Regions from separate parts of the Homo sapiens genome. Here region 1 is linked to region 2. Evidence: promoter capture Hi-C in 16 types of primary human blood cells and fetal thymus (Javierre and others, 2016). All regions are on one chromosome and are shown on one strand. Each heading gives the region's core, a stretch centred on a gene start or on the middle of the fragment in contact. The rest is flanking DNA. Distances are from core to core; before and after follow the strand shown. Region 1 overlaps VPS41 (VPS41 subunit of HOPS complex). Region 2 holds the start of RALA (RAS like proto-oncogene A).

Evidence for each region. The method cuts DNA at HindIII sites, captures the fragments that hold promoters and counts their contacts. A CHiCAGO score of 5 or more calls a contact.
Region 1: a contact is called between a fragment that was not itself captured here and the fragment with the promoter of RALA in region 2, in 1 of 17 cell types (neutrophils). The highest score is 6.0, in neutrophils.

Annotation. Positions count from the first base shown.
Region 1 is chr7:38,791,127-38,795,968 of GRCh38, forward strand. It overlaps VPS41 (VPS41 subunit of HOPS complex), which reads right to left. Exons shown (of 29, transcript NM_014396.4): 9 at 4,339-4,485. Among named protein-coding and RNA genes, the nearest start is that of VPS41, 120 kb to the right of the region's middle. The HindIII fragment of the contact is 7,889 bases long and covers 1-4,842 here.
Region 2 is chr7:39,620,383-39,625,992 of GRCh38, forward strand. RALA (RAS like proto-oncogene A) reads left to right here and starts at 3,190. Exons shown (of 5, transcript NM_005402.4): 1 at 3,190-3,443. It overlaps LOC107986785 (a long non-coding RNA gene), which reads right to left and starts at 3,095. Exons shown (of 2, transcript XR_001745175.2): 1 at 2,051-3,095; 2 at 1-1,232. RefSeq lists an enhancer at 3,066-3,913 and silencers at 3,240-3,749, 4,344-4,393. The HindIII fragment of the contact is 9,610 bases long and covers 1-5,497 here.

The DNA of each region.
Region 1 (4,842 bases), core at 1,061-3,560, 830 kb before region 2:
TGATTGCTTTTTGCCATTTGTCTCTTGTCCGTTTCATATAACTGCCTGTCCACTTCTCCAATTTTCTTCCCTTCTGGTAGACTTTTGAGCTTATAAGTTATCCACTCTTCTTCCCACACTTACTAGGGAAACTACTAAATCATCTAATGGCACATTCCACAATGCCAAATGGACAACTGTTTTAATGTGCTGATATAAGTACATGAGGAACAGTCTTTCAAATGGTTTGAAGTATAATAAAAAAGCAAATGTATCGGCAATATTAGTGAACACTTTTTTGGGCAGTTACTGGCAGTGCTCCTGAGTTAAGGCCTTTGTGAAATAGATATCATTATTTTCTTAAGATTATGGTGCAGTGGGGGAGACACAAAAATAAGGCACTTTACTGAAGTGTGACAGGGAAGTACAGAGCAGGGGCATCTCCTGCTAGGGCAGGAAGACTTCCTGGAAGAAGTGACATGTAAGTTGAAGCAGGAGAGACAACACAGGAGAACACGGTGATATGACAGCATAGGGCCTTCAACTGGAAGCTCAATCGGACAGAAATGAAGGGCATGGGGGAAGAAGGGGACAGAGTTGAGGCTGGAGAGTAACGGAGAGGCAGATCACAAAGAACCTTGGAAGTCATGTTTATGATCAGTTATCCTATGGGCAAGGAGGGGACTGACCTCATCTGACCTGCACTTAGATTATTCTAGCTATACTGTTTAGGATAGGTTTAGGGGGGGTAAAACCAGCACCAAAAAGACTTGACAGGAAGATGAAGTGCAGAGATTTGAGAGACATTGACAGAACTTGAGGGCTGACAGTCTTCCAACACTCAGACACCCCTGAAAGACAATGTTATTATGTTTAATCCAGAGATGAGGACACTGAGGCTCTGTGAGTGATGCCAGACTGCCTGGCCAGAGCTGGAATTCACACCAAGGCCTGACTGGTATCTCGCTGGTCATGCCACAGCTTGAGAACAAGGATGCATTGCACTACTGGTAGCTGGGCATGGCTCTACTGCACTCCTCAGCTCTGTGGTCTGGGCTCACCCAGCACCTGTCTCATAGGTAGGAAGTGGCAGGTAAAGGTGGGTGAATAGGTAAGTGCTACCTTAAGCTCATGTCTTGCATAAGCACAAATCAATGACTGTAAGAGCCCTTTACCACTGATAGGTGGGTTCTTGCCCATGAACTCTAATCTGCTTCCTCCACTTCTCCACATGGGTGGATAACAGGCATCTCTCAAGTAGACACACCTAAAACCAACTCTTGCCTTTTTCACTCTAAACATGCTTTATCAACAGTCTTTCCCATTTCAGCAAAAGGTAGTTTCACCTTCCAGTATGTTAGGTGACTGTGATCTTACACCCCACATCCAACTGTCAACAAATACTGCAGAGTCTACCATCAAAATATATCCAGGATCTGGTCATTTCTCACCAGCTGCATTACACTGACCTGAGACAACATTATTTTTTATGGAGATGACTGCGGTAGCCTAATTGGTCTCCCCTCTTGACTGCCCCTTTGCCGTTTAGCTCCACACAGCAACCAGAGATCCTTCCAAAATACAAGTTAGATCACTTAACTGACTCCACAACAGCTCAAAGCCCTGTGCTGGCTTCCTACCTCAGTCAAATTAAAAGCCAAAGACTTCTCAAGGGCCCCTGGGCTCCAACATCACCTGCTCCTCCACCACACCCTCCCCGACCCCCACTTACATCCCTCTCCTCCACATCTGCTCCACTCACTCTGACACAAACAGCTTCCTTGCTGTTCCTCAAAAGCACACCAATCACACTCCTGCTTCAAGAATTTTTGCACTCCTGCTCCTTCTGCTAACACCTCCTACCCCAGGCCCCCATAGAGCTGTATAACTTTTCTCTCCAGATCTCTGACCAAACAACATATTAGTTATTGGACAGGCCATCCCTGGACCACCCTATATTAAATGGTACCTACCCCAATCCCTTTTCCTATTATCCTGTTAAAATGTTCTCCTTTTTATTTGCCACCTTCAACATGCTATACTTACTTGTTTTTGTCCACCTTCCTCACTAGAACATAAATTTCCCAAGGGAAGGAACTCATTCATTTGTATATTTGTGTTCTGCAACACTAGAACACTGCCTGGCACACTGCAGGCACCTGGTAAACGTTTGTTGGGCAAATGAATGAATGAAGTAAATGGTAAGGTCCAATTGCACACTTTATTTTACTGTTTCTGGTTGCTTCTCCCCAACAAGATTGCTGTCCCTCTGAAGAAAGACCACGTCCTTATCTCCTCTTCCTTCAACAGAACTCACTAAGAGTCTACACTGAGAAGTGCTCAACATATAGAACTGAGTTTGAAGAAAAGGAACCTCCAATAAAATGAAATATTTGACATAAAAATTGTATAGAAGCTGGATCTTAACTTGGGCATAAAGAAAGGGTATATGTTTCCCATGGCTGCTATAACAGACTGCCACACTTGGTGGTTTAAAACAACAGAGATGTTGTTTTAAACATCTGTTACAGTTCCGCAGGCTACAAGTCTGAAATTGGGTTCACTGGGCTAAAATCAAGGTGTTGGCAAGGCTGTACTTCCTCTGGAGGCTCTAGGGGACAATCTGCTGTCTCCTCCAGCTTTCTGGTGGCTGCCACCATTCACTGACCACCTCACTCCAATTTCTGCCTCCACAGTGGTACTGCCTTCTCCTCCTCTCTTCCATGTTAGCATCTCCCTCTGCCTCCCTCTCATAAAGATAAACGTGATTGCATTTAGGGCCCACCCAGATAATGTAGGTTAATTCCCCATCTCAAGATCCTTAACTTAATCATATCTTTTGCTAAATAAAGTAATATTTACCTTTTTGTCATATAAAGAAACATTTATAGGTTCTAGGAATTAGGGCTTGCTATCCTTGGGGCCATTATTCAGCATACCAGAGAAAGAATTTCTGGGAGTAATGAGTAAACTTGTTACATATTTCTACAGGCTAATTTTCCTTGTCTTTCACCATAAGAAAAGAAAATCAGAACTTTAAAACTAACAAGCAACCTGGTCCATTTAAGGGATTTTTAAAATACTAAGAATATAAATTTATTGGATGAGTAACCACACACGTGGGACAGGGAGCCCAGGGAATCCCTTTTTCCATCCTACGATATAGGCACAGTTTCCTTCCTGTTACCCTAAATATAAATCAGGTTGTGTTCATGTAACACATGAAGAAAAAAGAACCTGAATGATAACAACATGAGGGCTGGGAGGGCCTGAAGTGTAACAATGTTTGTTTTGCTAATAACAATCATTACATTAATAATTTTCCACTTTCCCTTTCCAGAGAAGAGTACATTTTAAATAGCCACGTCCCCTTCATGACATTGCTAGAACTTTATATAATAATGACAGCTAACATTTATTAAGCAATTACATCAGATTCTATGCAAAACTCTTTACATGCATTGGCTCATTTATTTCTCCCCAAAACTTGTGATGTGAGAACAATTAGCACTACCACTTTGCAGATGAGGACAGTAAGGCTCACAGAGGATCCCAAAGGAAAATGGAGAAGCTGGACTTGATCCCAGGTCTGTCTGGCCTCAAAGCCTGAGCTCTTCCATGAGACTACTGCTGGGATACTCTCTCATGCCATTTTTATACTTCCACTAATTTTTAGTTTATTTTGTTCGAATTAAGCTGTCTATTTTTTAAAGGGAAACAACTTTTGGCTCTGAAGTATCTAATATAACAGAAGCACTAGTAGGCATAAAATAAATGTGAATGAGCTTTGGGCCCCCTTTCACAGAACAGCTAAATTTCATTTACCCAGGCGCATAAGGGTCAGATAATTAAACTTCAGAAAATATGCCCAAATCTTATTATTGATGATAAGTCTGGGTCTCTACTCTATCAAATTATTACCAAGCAGCAGGATGATTTAATTTTAACCTTCTCTCTCCACTATCAATAACTCTAATGAAGAAGTGAAGGGTCAAAGCTAAGGGAAAATGAAAAGAATAATAAAGAGAAGAAAACCTGACTAAACAACAAAACTAACCCCATGTTCTGTAAATAGCTAAGGCCAGCTGGGATGTGAGAAATTAAAAGAAGATTGAAAAAGACAGCACCATTCTCAACACGAAAAAGTTCACAAATAGTTTTACATGCCATGGAAAAGAAAGAATACATCTTAAAACTTATGCACAGGAAATAATTTGAGCATTAAATGGTAATCACGTCACAATAACATCCAAGTGAAAAGATTTGGGTCCTAGAAGCCAATCAAGACTCACAGTCCTTTGGACCACCCTCAGTGGATCTATAACAACACGGACTTATTATAAAGACAAGCAAAACCACCTTGACAGAAGTCCCCCAGCCAATAATCAGTGTCACATTGTCCTTCCAGCAGAGGCTGCAGGGATACATGTCTGGGCGAAGACTTATATCATCCCGGGGCACATTGGTGATTCTTTGCTTTGAGATGATGTCAAAAATCTTCACACCCTGGAAAATAATACAGCAGTAAGCATCCTCTACTCAGGAGGAAAGTAACAGAAAACTTATTAACAGCCCCTGCTACATACTACCAATAACCAGCACGGAGAAATATTAGCAGTGTTTACTGAGCATGCAAGGAAAATGCTCCTGCTCCACACAAACCCTGTGGGAACTAAAACCACAAGGAAACCTCCACCCTTCTTTCTGGACAAAGGAGATTTTCTTAGATGGCATGGGTGACTCAAACCCAACAGAAACATGAAATGTACAAACATCAATAGCTGCATTTCCAAACTGACAGACAAGTAACATTTCTAATTTTATCGTTCCACCATGAAAAATGAAGTTTGTTTTTTAGAAAGG
Region 2 (5,610 bases), core at 1,940-4,439:
GTCTATATATTTCATTACATGTTTGTGATTAAACAGTGATGAGAATGACAGAGTTTCACAGGAATGTTCAACTTAATTGTGTCAAACATGTAACTGTCTATAAATTCTATAGGGACTGCATTATTCTATGGGGACATGAATAATGTTTTTAATACAAAATTCCAGTTAACTGACTGGAGTAGACTAATCATTAATTCTAAAACATGCTTCTGGCAAATCCCTATCTACCCTGTATTTTCCCCCAAAGCATATATTAGCTATGAGTAGCATGAATATAAAAGTTGTGGTTACCAAAACTTCTTTTTACTTCCCTCTTTCATTAACTATATTTGTTAATACACAAGGTTTGATCATAAATAGTAAAGTCAATTCACAAGTTAAGAAAAAAGATCTAAGTGTATTTCAAAACAGGATCCTTCATGTTCTTTGAGTAATCCAGGCAGCAAAGTCAGGAATGCTCATGGGTGCTACTGGATATTAGTGCTAATTACTAATAATATGTACTTACAATTATGCCCTTTCATCCAAGTACCTCAAAGAGCTTTCATAGCATTAATTTGTTATTTCCTATAATATCTTTGAGAGGCGGCTGATAGAAAGTTATTATTATCTCTATTTTACAGTCAGAGAAACTAGGGCATAGAGAGGTTAAGTAACATTGCTAGGGTCATACGGTGAACAACTGACAAAAAAGGGACTCAAGCTAATTATTCTCATTTCCTGTTCAGTATATTATCCATTATATGGTTGTTCAATACACCTAAATGCTTTTTTATCCTAGACAAATTGAGAATACTGTATTTAAATAATCTAAGACGTAAGTGAACGCGTTTCTCTTTTTTTGTGTGTTCAAAAATGCTGCTCTACAGGGATATAGAGTTAAAAACTAATAATTAGTCTTTGGTTTGCAGCTGTAGCTATTATTTATAGGGCTTTTACTATTTGTGGTTTTCTGAAGCTCTGCTCAAAATGAAGTATTCTATTTCTCACTGCTTTATGCTAGGTTAGCATAGCTGTGAGCCACCAAAAAGCAGCTGAGACAGGCTGACTAATGAATTTGAGGTTGTCTTTCATTGCGTTCCTATTGCTGACTCTTCTTGAAGTCATCCTCCTTCTAGCTCTCCATTCAGCAGATATTTGTGCAACCCACCATCCTCAATCCTCAGCCTATGGCCAGCTTAACTGTTGTCAATGATTAAATTTAAAATATTTTTATTGGAATGGAGCAATTCCTACAGAATAAAAAAGAAAAAAATTAAAATATTAAAATATAAACATAGATAATATTTCATTTTATGAGTTAATGATGCTATACTATTAATAGTTACCACTGTTACATCCAGTTTCTGCTAAACCTGACCTTTAGGGTCCTTAGAAGACCATTAAACATTAGAATATTGGTCTATGGATGGACACATATCACCATATTGGGTTTTTTAATGCAGTATTTCAGTAATTTTCCCAAGTAAAGGCAGGGAGAAAGGAGAAGTGGTTTTGAAACTGTGCTCAATGACGTAAGACTGCAGTCAGCTTGGTTATGGTCATCTAAACCTGTGGTGTTTCCAACTTCAGCCCAGCTCCTCCCTAGAGCTCTAGACCCATATAGCAACCACCATTAGACAGCACCACTCTTACTTCACTCATCAACTCCAAAACTGAACTCATTTTTTTTCTGCAAAAATGTCCCCTCCCAGGACTCATCCTAACTCTTCCTTATCTTATTTAGTAAAATACACCCTTATCCTGCCCCTCCCTCAAAGCAAAACAAGGCATCATCATTGCCTCTTCCATTCTCCTATCTGGCAGCTGCCCCTAGCAACCAATTACCAGTTGATATGGCCTCTTGAATATTTTAGGAATCCATCTCCTTTGGATGCTCACTACCATTCACACAGGGTCCTTAAGTTTTCTCTTACTGGCTTCTGCAATGGCCCCCTTGTGGGCTCTCTGCTTATCCTTCTCTGCCCCCCCACCTCCACCCCCCCAAGTTATCTGTTCTCTACCAACAGAAGAATAGCTTAAATTGTAATCTGTCCACTCATTGCCTCACCAAGGCATAGACGATTCGTGATTTGGCTCCTGTTTTCTTCTCCAGCCTCATCTTCTTCAGCAACCTAAGTTTGAACTTCAAGACCTGTAATTATTACTCATTCTTCTCAACAAATTATTTGTCCCCGTGCTGCATCTCCTTTCTGTTCGGATCCGGATTTGCCATCCCACCCCTATTTTTGTAGTAGAAAATGCCTATTTATCTTTAAAACTCTAACCTACGTTAGTAAAGCTATCCATTCTTCACGCTGTACATCTTGATAAACCATACTTCCAATAGCAATGATTTGCTTTCATGTATGTCTGCCCACTAGACTGGACATTCCTTGAATGGCTCATACCAGGAATATAGTTGGTACTCAATTTGTGGGGAGCAAAGAGAGATAAGCGAATAAATGTCAAGACATAAGAATCTGTAGCTGCTAACTTAAATTTACGGATTTAGTGAAACTACTTCTCACAAGCTACCAAATCACAGTGCCATGGGGCCGCAAGATGATCTCAGTGCCACACCGACACCTGCAGAGTCGCAGGGGGGTCCGACACCCCTCAGAAAGAACTCGCAGACCGTCCGAGAAAGCGAATTCTCCAGGGGATCAGCAGTTAGATGAGGCCCAGGGCAGCCACGAGACCCTCCAGCCAGGGTAGGCGGCTGACCCGCCTCCTGGGATTTGGCCCGTGACAAGCCACGTCGCCAGCTCCGCTCTGAATACCCCCGGCCACGCCACACGAGCGGCCTCAACCCTGAGACGCCCAGGGAACATGAGCTGACCCTCTAGAAGCAAGATGGCGGCCTCCGCTCTCCCCTCCTTCCCCCAAGAACCCCCTCCTGGTCCCCAAAAGAAAGACAAGGACACCGCGGCAACGACGCCGAGATCCGGGAACCTCCGCGAGGCCCGCGGCCACTCCCGAGCCCCCGGGAGATGACTTCACCTCGCGGAGCTCAGAGAGCCGGGGGTGGGGCCGTCGGAAAGACAGCGCGGACAGCCCTCAGCTTGCAGGGGGCGGAGGCCGGGCAGCCTGCGCCCTCCGAGCCACTGTTCTGCGGCCCAGGCCCATGATCACCCTCCTCTCAGCCCACGGACAGGAAGTCGCTCCCCAGCTGCCCCGCCCCGCTCCCCAGCGCCCCGGAAGTGATCTGTGGCGGCTGCTGCAGAGCCGCCAGGAGGAGGGTGGATCTCCCCAGAGCAAAGCGTCGGAGTCCTCCTCCTCCTTCTCCTCCTCCTCCTCCTCCTCCTCCAGCCGCCCAGGCTCCCCCGCCACCCGTCAGACTCCTCCTTCGACCGCTCCCGGCGCGGGGCCTTCCAGGCGACAAGGACCGAGTACCCTCCGGCCGGAGCCACGCAGCCGCGGCTTCCGGAGCCCTCGGGGCGGCGGACTGGCTCGCGGTGCAGGTGAGCGATGCCCGCTCGGGCCGCCCGGGGAGGGACTGGGGCCACCCGGGCGGCGGCGGGGGTGTGTCCGGGCGGCGGCGGGCCGAGGCCCTGACGCGGGTTCGGGCTGCCGAGATTGCACATCCCACGTTCTGCCCGGGGACGAGCTGCGAGATGAGCCCGGCTGGAATCCGGGGCACCGCGTTCGCCGCTGTGGGGCGAGTGAGCCCCCGAGAGTGAGCGGCTGCGGAGAGGTCCCCTGCGCCCGGCAGCCGGTCTCAGTTGGCCTCGTCCGAAGGTCACCCCGCACCTTTCGTCCACGGCGCCCAAGTTCCCGCCCGGGCGGTGCCCGCGACCTGGGGCAACCCGCTGCCGCCGCAGTCCCCGCGCCTCACTCCACCCCTCTCCCCTCCTTCCCTTTCTTTCCACTCCTTGCCTGTGCTAGAGCCGCTGCTTTTTAAGCATCTCCGCCAGGGTTTTTTGTTTGTTTGTTTTGTTTGTTTGTGTTTTTTTTTTTTTTTGCCAGTTAAAGGAATGGTTTTTCAGACTTAAAGTCATTAGACTCTCCGCACTGAACTGAATACCTGGCCTTGGGCGCTTGCACAGCTTTAGCCCATTTTCAGGTAATCTAGCTTCTAATATGAGGAAGAGAATACATTTTGGGAGAGAGGTGTTTCCTCTGTGGTTCGTTTCTGAAAGATTTCCAGAAGTGGAAGATGTGATTGGCATGCTTTAGCCTGGATATATGTGTTTAAGTAGACGGGGGTGACGGCACACAGGGGTGGCAGTGTTGTTTCAGGATTTAGGGAGAATTAGGGAGTTAACTGGCCTGTGCTCGGAAACCTGAATGTCCAGACTTGTAAGAGCTCATCCAAGTGTGGCTGAGGTAGTGTGAGAAGTCCCGTGCCACGCCCTACGTGTCAAGCTGAAAAGCACCTAATTTACAAATTGTGTGGTGTGGGGGGGGAACAACCTTTATAAAACATGTATCATAAGTTAATTCTTTTCCAGAAAGTAAATTGCAACTTTAATCATATTCCAGAAATTGGATAACAGATTTCATTGGTAAACTCTTACAGTATGTTTATTAATGTATTTCAGTGTGTCTTATTAGCTCATGTTTTTCTGTCTCTGGTAATACAATATTATTCTAAACCGACTCCTGTATTAAAATAATACACTATTATTGTGAAGTATTATCTGACAACACCGTTTTTTGACCTTGGATTTCTTTAGGGCAGGAGCCATGTCCTACTTATGACTGTTTCTATGCAGTATGCCTTGAACATAGAAGCTGTTCACACATTTCTGCACTGAATGAATGAGTGTATAGGTTATCTCACAGTCACCATCCAGGAGTTGCTTATTTTTGTTGGGCTAGGCTGTTTGTTTTGTTTTAGGTTCTTGCCACTTACAGACTTTACTTCGTGTTTCATTCTTCAGCAGTCAGAGTTCTTTGCCTTCCAAAACTATCCTCCTCTGAAAGGTTAAAATTATATTAAAATTGTGCTGGGCATTATAACTTGTATTCTAGTGTTAAATGCTTACTACTTGAGCATATTCAGAGTTAGTAGGAAGAGACTGCCTGGTGATACACATCAAGTTTATGTTTGGGGTTGATAACTGTACCCTATCTTAATGAAAAAGAGGAAATTAGGAGTTACCATTGTTTGGATAACGTGGTGCTTCCCAGAATGCTTATAGTGGTTCATTCTTCCCATGAATACACGCAATCCTCTGAAATCCTGATGTGACCTTGGCATGATTTACCAATAGCCTCTTTTACATTTATTTTCCAAGATCCAGATGCTGTTCTCTAGTGTGTTTGCTGAGTGTGCAATAATATGGATCATTTATTTTGAAGCAGTACTTCATTACAACACTTTCTTCACAGGGCTTTCCAAAGGAAGAAAGGGCTAATTATAGAAAAGAATCTTGTCTACCATTTGTGAGGGAATATTTTTGTCTGTAGATGGTTGGATTATTTTCACATTAGGGAGGTTCAAATAAGAAGAAAGTGCTGACGTTTTCTCTCCTCTCCAAGTATGTGGTGGTGGTCCTGCACTGTTTTTCCAAGCTTAGCTTCTACAGAACATAAATACATGTACCAGTGTCAATTCTTGTAGATATGCATATCAGTGTAATATGCATTTGTATTCTTTAGTAGATGAGTGGCAAGGACAATTAC